2 separate regions of the Homo sapiens genome follow, and region 2 is linked to region 1. Evidence: promoter capture Hi-C in human tissues and cell types (Jung and others, 2019). All regions are on one chromosome and are shown on one strand. Each heading gives the region's core, a stretch centred on a gene start or on the middle of the fragment in contact. The rest is flanking DNA. Distances are from core to core; before and after follow the strand shown.

What was found. Contacts are between HindIII fragments. The study calls those that stand out against the background at their distance.
Region 2: a fragment that was not itself captured here is called in contact with the fragment with the promoter of CCL21 in region 1 in 2 of the 25 tissues and cell types used here (dorsolateral prefrontal cortex and lymphoblastoid cells).

Annotation. Positions count from the first base shown.
Region 1 is chr9:34,708,081-34,712,439 of GRCh38, forward strand. CCL21 (C-C motif chemokine ligand 21) reads right to left here and starts at 2,056. Exons shown (of 4, transcript NM_002989.4): 1 at 1,920-2,056; 2 at 1,697-1,817; 3 at 1,420-1,602; 4 at 925-1,347. The coding sequence starts at 1,986. The coding sequence ends at 1,314. It also overlaps a transcript of PHF24 not described here. The HindIII fragment of the contact is 9,492 bases long and covers 1-4,359 here.
Region 2 is chr9:34,823,237-34,827,595 of GRCh38, forward strand. It overlaps a transcript of PHF24 not described here. Among named protein-coding and RNA genes, the nearest start is that of SPATA31F3, 70 kb to the right of the region's middle. The HindIII fragment of the contact is 6,147 bases long and covers 1-4,359 here.

The DNA.
Region 1 (4,359 bases), core at 806-3,305:
CACATTGTCTGGCCCAATCTGATGGCTTCTACTCTCCCCGCCTGGAGGTGATTTGGGGAATAGAAGGGTCTTCACTCTGGGGAGGAAGAGGTAGAGGAGAGCCATCTGAGGCCTTCCAGGAGAGGAGACTGATTCACACCTGAATCCTGGGGTTCTGAAAACCTGCCCCAGGAGACTTATTCCTTGACTTCAAAGGGTTAAATGGGCTAAAGTAGTCTGGATCCCAGCCAGGAAAGAAAGGAGGAAAAAAAAAGGGAGGAGGTTTTTCCATCTGGAAGGAGGCTGAGTGAGTCCAGGGGCCCAGATAGGAATAGAAGGAGAGCACAACAGCCCCATTAAACAAAGAGGAGAGGTCAAGGCCCGAGCTTCACTGAATAGGGCTGAAGCAAGTCCCCTCGGGTCTTTGCCTCCCAGGGGCTCTCTCAGGGCTGGAACTGTGCTAGGGCAGGTTTCAATATAACTTGTGTTTGTCTGTGTTATAGATGGGCCCAAGCCACAGCTTCCCTCCTAGGGACCCTTCCAAAGAACCACTTGGAGGGTCTCATTGAATAGTTCCCAGGGAAAAGAGAGGAAGCCTCTGGGATATCTGGGGAAAGGTCTGAAGGTCATGGAAAAGATCCGAAGGTCACCCCTGGAGTTAGTGCAGGACAGAATCAGGGTCTCAGAGGTCTGCAGAGCTGTTGGGGGTGTGTGCTCCATGTCCACCACCTCTCCATTGGCAGGATGCCTCAGAAGACTGGGTCCTACCCTGTCCTTCAGCCTCCCTTTAACTGCTCAGGGGTGCAGGCACCTGAGAGGCAAGGAAACTCTTGGGGTAGATGAGAACATAGCATTTTTCAGCCTGAGCTTTCGGCTCAGAGTGTGTGACCCCACCCTGTAGGAACCTTGGCATCTCGGTGGACATAAACACATGGGAACAGGTACTTGGGTGGGAAGACAGAACAGCTTTTTATTCAGTTAGGTATAAATCATATTTACAAGGAAGAGGTGGGGTGTACTGGGGAGCCGTATCAGGTCCAGGGTCCTGATGATTCTCCTTCAAGGGGACAGTCCTGCTGCCTCCTCTCATGCTCCCTGGGAGACTCTCCCTCCTCGGTCTCTCTGGACCTGGCCTGCTGTGGGCAGCTCAGCCATGCAGGGTAGAGCTGGGAATGCAGATGGGGTGGTTAAAGCAGGAGAAAGAGTGTGGCAAGGCCAGCATGGGGTGGCTGCTCCAGGGCCCCTGAGCATAGCCTCCTTCTTGCATCTTGGGTTCAGGCTTCAAGCGCTGGTGAGGCTGGTGGGGTCTCCAGGGCTCCAGGCTGCTCACTGGGCTATGGCCCTTTAGGGGTCTGTGACCGCTCAGTCCTGTGAGGGCAGAAGAGGGGTGTGAGGGGCTGACTGAGGCTCCCCTTTACCCACATCCCTCAGATTCCTCACCTCTTGCAGCCTTTGGAGCCCTTTCCTTTCTTGCCAGTCTTGGAGGCCCCCCTGTCCTTCCTGCAGCCCTGGGCTGGTTTCTGTGGGGATGGTGTCTTGTCCAGATGCTGCATCAGCTGCTGCACCCAGAGCTCCTTTGGGTCTGCACATAGCTCTGCCTGAGAGCGCTTGCGGGGCAAGAACCTGCGGGTGGGGGCTAGTAAGCCTTCTTAGTCTTGCCCACCATGCCCTCCCCACCCCGTCACCAGCCAGTACCCACCCCTTTGTGTCCACTCACAGGATAGCTGGGATGGAGCAGCCTAAGCTTGGTTCCTGCTTCCGGTAGCTGCGGACAACCTTGGCGGGAATCTTCCTTTGGCTGTACTTGAGGCAACAGTCCTGAGCCCCTCCATCACTGCCTGCAGGGTGGGATTCACAGGGAGCCAGGGGCTGCTGGCAAGCTCCTATCCAGGCCTCTTGATCCCCTTAGCCCCATGCAAGGCCCCTCCCTGCCTTGGTACCTTGGGTCCTGGGGATGCCAAAGGCCAGAACCAGGATAAGGAGGCTCAGAGCCAGTGACTGAGCCATGTCTGTGGTAGAGGGTGAGTAAGAGGCCAGAGCTGAGGGTGAGGTGGGCAGCTGCAAGTTGGGGGTCTGTGCGTGGGCTGGGATTGGCCTGCTATTTATGTAGCTAGACACTTTCACTTCCCTTAACTTATCCCCACTCCTTTTCCTTCCTGAAAGCTGGATTTGCTGGCACCCAGCCCCACTTATCTCAAACTAAGTGGACAGTCCTCAGCTGCCAAATTTTATGTCCTCATTAGTTGAATATGTCTGGGCCTGAGCCTTCCTTCTATTCCCAGCTACTGCTTTCATGCAGGCCTCACTGCCTCTCCCCTGGAACACCATGACTGTCTCCTCACTACGCTCCAGGATCCATACCCTTCCCCTCCTTCCAGCAAATCTGATTATTAAATTGTAAGAGTTCTTTTTTTTTTTTTTTTTTTTGAGACAGGGTCTAACTCTGTCACCCAGGCTGGAGTGCAGTGGTTGATCTTGGCTCACTGAAATCTCCGCCTCCTGGGCTCGAGTGATCCTCCTACCTCAACCTCCCCAGGAGCTGGGACTACAGGCAAGCACCACTGCGCCTGGCTGATTTTTCTATTTTTTTTTTGTAGAGACGAGGTTTCACGATGTCTAGCCCAGGCTAGTCTTGAGCTCCTGGGCTCAAATGATCTGCCTGCCTCAGCCTCTTGAGGAGCTGGGACCACAGGCACATGCCACTACGTCCGGCTACTGTTTTCATTTTTCATTTTTATTTTTTCTAGAGATGAGGTCTTGCTATGTTGCCCAGTCTGGTCTTGAACTCCTGGGCTCAAGCGATCCTCCTGCCTTGGCCACCCAAAGTGCTGGAATTATAGGTATGAGCGACTGCACCTGGTCTGTAGCATAACCATTTTGATTCCCCTTTGCTTTCCTTTTCTATATATTTTGTAGTTATTTTCCTAATGGATACCTTGGTGATTATAATTAACATTCTAAACTGATAACAACCTAGTTTGAATAATACCAACTTAGTTTCAATGGTATATAAACATTTTGCTCGTATACATTTTAGTCCCTTCTTTATATTGTTATTGTCACAGATTACATCTTTATACATTGTGTTCCCATTGACATAGATTTATAATTATTGTTTAATGCATTTTCCTTTTAAATTATATAGAAAAAAGTGGGGCTACAAACTAAAAATACAATACTAGCTTTTATCTTTTTTTTTTTTTTTGACACAGGGTCTCGCTTTGTCACCCAGGCTGGAGTGCGGTGGCACAATCTCAGCTCACAGCAGCCTCGACCTCCTGGGCTCAAGTGATCCTTCCACCTCAGTCTCCTGAGTAGTGGGGCCACCATGCCTGGCTAATTTTTGTATTTTTTGTAGACACGAGGTCTCACTATGTTGCCCAGGCTAGTCTCGAACGCCTGACCTCAAGCAATTCACCCGCCTTGGCCTCCCAAAGTAATGGGATTACAAGTGTGAACCAGCATACCTGGCAATGTTGTTACTTTTTTTTTTTTTTTTTTGAGACAGAGTCTCACTCTTTCGCCCAGGCTGGAGTGCAGTGGCGTGATCTTGGCTCACTGCAACCTCCACCCTCCGGGTTCAAGCCATTCTCCTGCCTCAGCCTCCCGAGTAACTGGGATTATGGGCACCTGTCACCACATCCAGCTAATTTTTCTATTTTTTGTAGAGATGGGGTTTCACCATGTTGGCCTGGTTGGTCTCAAACTCCTGACCTCAAATGATCCGCTCACCTTGGCCTCCCAAAGTGCTGGGATTACAGACATGAGCCACTGCGCCCAGCCTGCTATGTTGTTATGTTTATCAGAGATCTTTGTTTCTTTGTGTGGCTGTGAGTTATTATTTTTTGTCCTTTTGTTTCATTCTGAAGGTCTTCCTTTAGCATTTGTTTGTTTGTTTGTTTGTTTTTTCTTTCTCCCGTTAGCTTTTCTTGTGGGCAGGTCTACTATTAATGAACTTCCTAAGTTTTGTTTATCTGGAAATGTCTTATTTCTCCTTAATTCTTGCAGCATAGTTTTGCTGGATATATAGAATTCTTGTTTGACTTTTTTTTTTCTTCAGTCTTTAAATATATCCCCCATTGTCTTTTGGCCTCCCATGGTTTCTGAAATCAGCTGGTAATCTTATTGAGAATCTCTTGTACATAATGAGTTACTTCTCTCTTGCTGCTTTTAAAATCTTTGGGTTTCAACAATTTGACTATAATTTGTCTTGGTGTGGATCTCTGAGTTTATCCTTCTTAGAGTTTGTGAACTTCTTGGGTATGTATATTCATGCTTTTCATCAGATTTCAGATGTTTTGTCATTATTTCTTCAATTTTTTTAATGCCCTGTTCCCTCTCTTCTCCTCCTGAGACTCCTGTGATGAGGTACATTTGATG
Region 2 (4,359 bases), core at 982-3,481, 120 kb after region 1:
CCGAAGAAGCTGGAGTGGTGCTCACCTAGGGAAGGGACTTTCCAGCCTGGCACTGCCTCTGAGAAAGCTAGGGGGAACATGGCAGGGAAGAGGAAGGGGCTGTGCTTCTTCCTCTCCTAGAATCCCAGTTTCCCTATCTCACTCAAAACATCCTGTTGTCCCTTTGCCCTTGGTCATGCCATCCAGGAGGCCATTTGTTAGTGTCAGATGGTGTCCACAGCACCTTCGGGTCCCATCCTTGCCTACCTTTTCTAGATTCAGGAAGCTCTTTCTAGTATAGACTCTAAGCCCCTACCTGTCACCTAGAGCCTTCAGTGGTTGAGCAGCCTCAGAGAGATGTTCCATCCTGGAGACGTTGGGGCCTCCCTGCTTGGTCCTGTGGCTTAGAAAAAAGTTAGGAGCCCAAAGGAAAGGGGGGAAGCTTTGCTGGAGGTGGAAACCTGGCTGGATGAAAAACTAGGTCAGAAAACAGCTGCCCTGAGAGCAAGAATGGGATAGTGAGTCTCTGCCCACACTCTGGTCTGTGGGCGAACCTGGAAGCTTGAGAGGGAGGCACTGAGGCAGCCGAGAAGAGACTGAGCCACACATGACTTCAGCCCTACCTGTGATGATGAATTCAGATCTAACACTCTATCACCAGACTGAGATCCTGGAAGGTGAGAGGAACTGTGCTTATTCACATCTACCTCAGCCACAGTGTTAGCAGGCCCACTACCTCTCTAGGACAGGCACCTGGGCCAGTTCTGGAGTAGACGTCCTAGGTTTGGGTGTTGCAAGAGTCTGGAAATCCCCACATTGGAAAGGACCACACTCCCTTCACCCTCAGGGCCTGTTTGCTCTCGCCTGGTAGAGTTTCCAGGGCAGGAGATGCTCCCAGCTTGGCAGGTAAGAGCCACAGAGGGGTACGGTGGGAATTTCAGCTCAAGGGCTGGGCTAGTTCTGCAACAGAATTTGGAGTGGGCTGGGCCCTATAGGCCTGTATATCCGACAAGGGTCACAGAGTCTGGGGGCATGGCTGTTCCTGGGTTCCCAGGTGAGCATTGAGTCTTCCCAAACAAGATGCCCCATGGACTGTGCAGCTGTTATTGAAAGATCTCCTGAGCTCCTGGGGAAATATATGACACATATGTGTGCAAAATGTGTGTGCCTAGCATAGATGTATGTATTCCTCAATGTATAGCTACCTAGGGTTACAGTTAGAGTTAGAATTATGCTTAGAACAGCATTGATGTTATGGTTCCAGTTTGGAGTGAGGTAGTGGTAAGGATAGGGTGGGAATCATGGTGATATTAAAGTAGGGTTTGGAACTAGGTTTGTGGTTCCTGTTGATAGAAGTTGGTGTATCTTAGATGAGGAAGGTGTTAGGGTTGGAGTAAGGCACTGCTGGCATTTAGAATTTAGACAAAGAGATAAATTTTGTGTTGGAGGCTGATTTTAAGCTTTCAAGATAGTGTGGAGAGGGACTTAGGCTTATGCATAACATGTGTTAATCTTGTATAGATGACAGGTTGTTTGCTGTTTCTGGGTCCTCCACAGTTCATGGGTACAGAGTGGTCACTATAGCTGTGGTCCAGCTAGGGAAGGTAGGCATTAAGCTGCTGGGGAGAGGGCGGATCAGTTTTCTATCTCAAACTTATTTGGCCATGTAAACATTTTGGATCACAGTCACTAGTATTACCTGTCTGAGGTACAGTTGTTCCTTCTTATTTGAAAAACTATGGTTTAGAGGTTTCTTTGGAAATGGGGTTGGAGTTGGGTTTAGAGGTGTGGTCGATAGGGGTGGGATTGTGGTTAACATAAAGTTTAGGCTAGAGCTACATATGAGATCATGTCTTGTGTAAGGGTTTTCTAACTGGGGAACCAGGACCTGGTTCTTCATGGTTTCCCGAGGATAACGTGGACTAAGTGTGTCTACGTGGTTTGTTCTTCCCTTGTGTCTGCTATGTCAAAGAGTCTGAGAGTCAGGACCCTTCAAGGATGGAGCCAGCAGTAAATTGGGGGCCCTCAGGGTGATGGGTGTATAGGCGAAGGATGAGGCTGCTGAAGAGGACTCTCTTCCTGACCCTGACGTTCTTTAAGAGCACACAGCCACATTGTTGAGACCAGAGGTATGCATGTGAAACCAAAACTATCCTATTAAAGGACAAGCAATGGGACAGAAATGACAAACCAAAGTTTAAAGGAGAGATGAGCCTGGTCTGAGGTAGCCTAGAGGATTTATGGAGGAGAGGGTCTTTGCAGGATGGATTTGGACTGCATTTGTGTCTGTGGGTCTGTAAGATGGGCTGTCTGTTCTGTGTGCAAACTTGTCAACTTGTCTTTGTGTCTGTGCATTTTTGACTGTTTGCTCGAGCATGTCTGATGCAGGGTGTTCATGAGTCCTTGAACACCCAAGGACTCATGAACACCCAAATCCAAGTTCATGAGTCCAAGAACACCCAAGTCATGTCCAAGGAAGACATAAGTGTGTTTTTCTTGACATGTTTGTGCTTACTCTGAACTCTTAGGTTGGTGCAAAAGTAATTGTGGTTTTTGCCATTATGGCAAAACCATATGTGTGTAATTCTGCCCTGGCCCCTCACCGTATCTTCCCCCTCTGCCCTGATACACCCTAGCTGCTAGCACAATTTACTGCAAGGAGGGCTTCCCTTCCCACCGTCTGGATTCCCATGGGTCAGTCTGCCTGCCCAGGGACCCGCCCCTGTGGCCTTTGTAGTAGGCCTGACCTTGGAATTGATACACTCTGGAAATCCCCTAGTATGCTACTTGCCTGGCTGTGGACCAGGCAAGAACACGAGAGAAGTTTATAGAGGAGGAGAGGGACAAGGCAGGAAAGGGGGGTAGTTGGCAGCACCCACCCCTCCTTCTGGAAACTGGATCTCACTGGCCTCTTCCCAGGCCCCCCTCTCCCTCCCCATGCTCTCCCAGGGTCCTGGCCTCACTGTCTCCGGGCATGAGAATGCACAGACCTCTGTAAGCCTGGTCAGCCCTGTGAGGCATCTGGTCCTTTGTGTCCCTAAGCACTTTACATGCCTGGATTGTGCTTATCTGTCATATTGCCACCTGAGCTCAAGGAAGTCCTCCCTTCTCCTCTGTCCCTGCAGTGGACACAGAGGCCATTCTGGCCCTTCCATCTATGGCAGGCCTGGCCTAGACCATGGGCTCCAGAGGCCAGGTAGAGCATTCGGCCCTGGTTGTCTGGTTAAGCAGCAGAGGCCCAGCCACCTCCCACATGGTGCAGGAAGCAGTGTCTCCATGGAGTCTATTCCTGTGTTCATCCTGTGTCCCTTGCCCTCCCTGCCTGGGCTGCAGTGAGCAGGTATAGAAGTGAAGCAGTCACAGTCCCTGCCCTCAACAACTCAGCGTTGAACACAAGTGATGTTGTGGAGAAGCCACCCTCCTCCCACTGCTGGTGGTCGGTTTCCTGAAATTCCCTCCAGCCAATTCCGAAGTGCCCTTCTGGAAAGCCCAAGAGAAGAGCTCTAGAAGGTTGGGGCCATTCACCATGACATGTTGTTACCTGAGTGTGCCAGAGGTGAACCCAAAGATCCCAAGCAAGCACTGATGTATTCCTAGCATCTACCCCCAAACCTGAAGTAGTAAATTCTTGAGTTTATACCCTTCATGTGACTTTTGCTTCTTGCCTCTCTTCACCCTGGGGAAGATAGAACATGGATTTATGCAGGGATTATGGGATGAGCAAGGCTTCATCCACCATCAGCATTCCACATAAGTCATAGGCTATGACCCCTATTTCTCTTAGCTCTTGACTTTGCCAAGAACTCAGAATCCTGAAGCTATCAGTTTCAGCTCATTTCTCTGCCCCTGGGACTTCTGTCAGCAGCATGAGCCCATGCTGGCCTCAAGCAGGTAGGAGCCTGCAGGGAACCATGGGAAGGACCTGCTCCACCCTAAACCAGGATGTGTGCATGCTAACCCCTGGCTCCCTACCTGATGCTGCTGTGACCCTCCTGAGTCAATTCCCTTCATTCTGGGCTTCCCTCTATTCTCCTAGCTGTGTGGCTGCCTGCCCCACTCCCACCAGGCAGGGAGGATGTGCCTGTCACAAGACCTCCTTTGATCTTTGGGGATGCTTTAGAAAAACACCTGTTGAGTGTTGGTTCAGCAGGCCTGAACCTTGTGCTTCTCCATCCTGGAGACCATCCATGGGGTGGGCCCCCAACCCTTAGGCACAGAATCAGCATTCAGAGCAGGGACATATCCATGTTTCTTCCCATCCTGCCTCTTCTGTATCCAAGCAGTGGACACATTGTGCTAAATGCTGGGGTCCCATCAGAGGAAGCAAGTACTGCCACCTCCTCCTCATGATGGGATGGTGAGTGATCCTGGGTTTCCTTA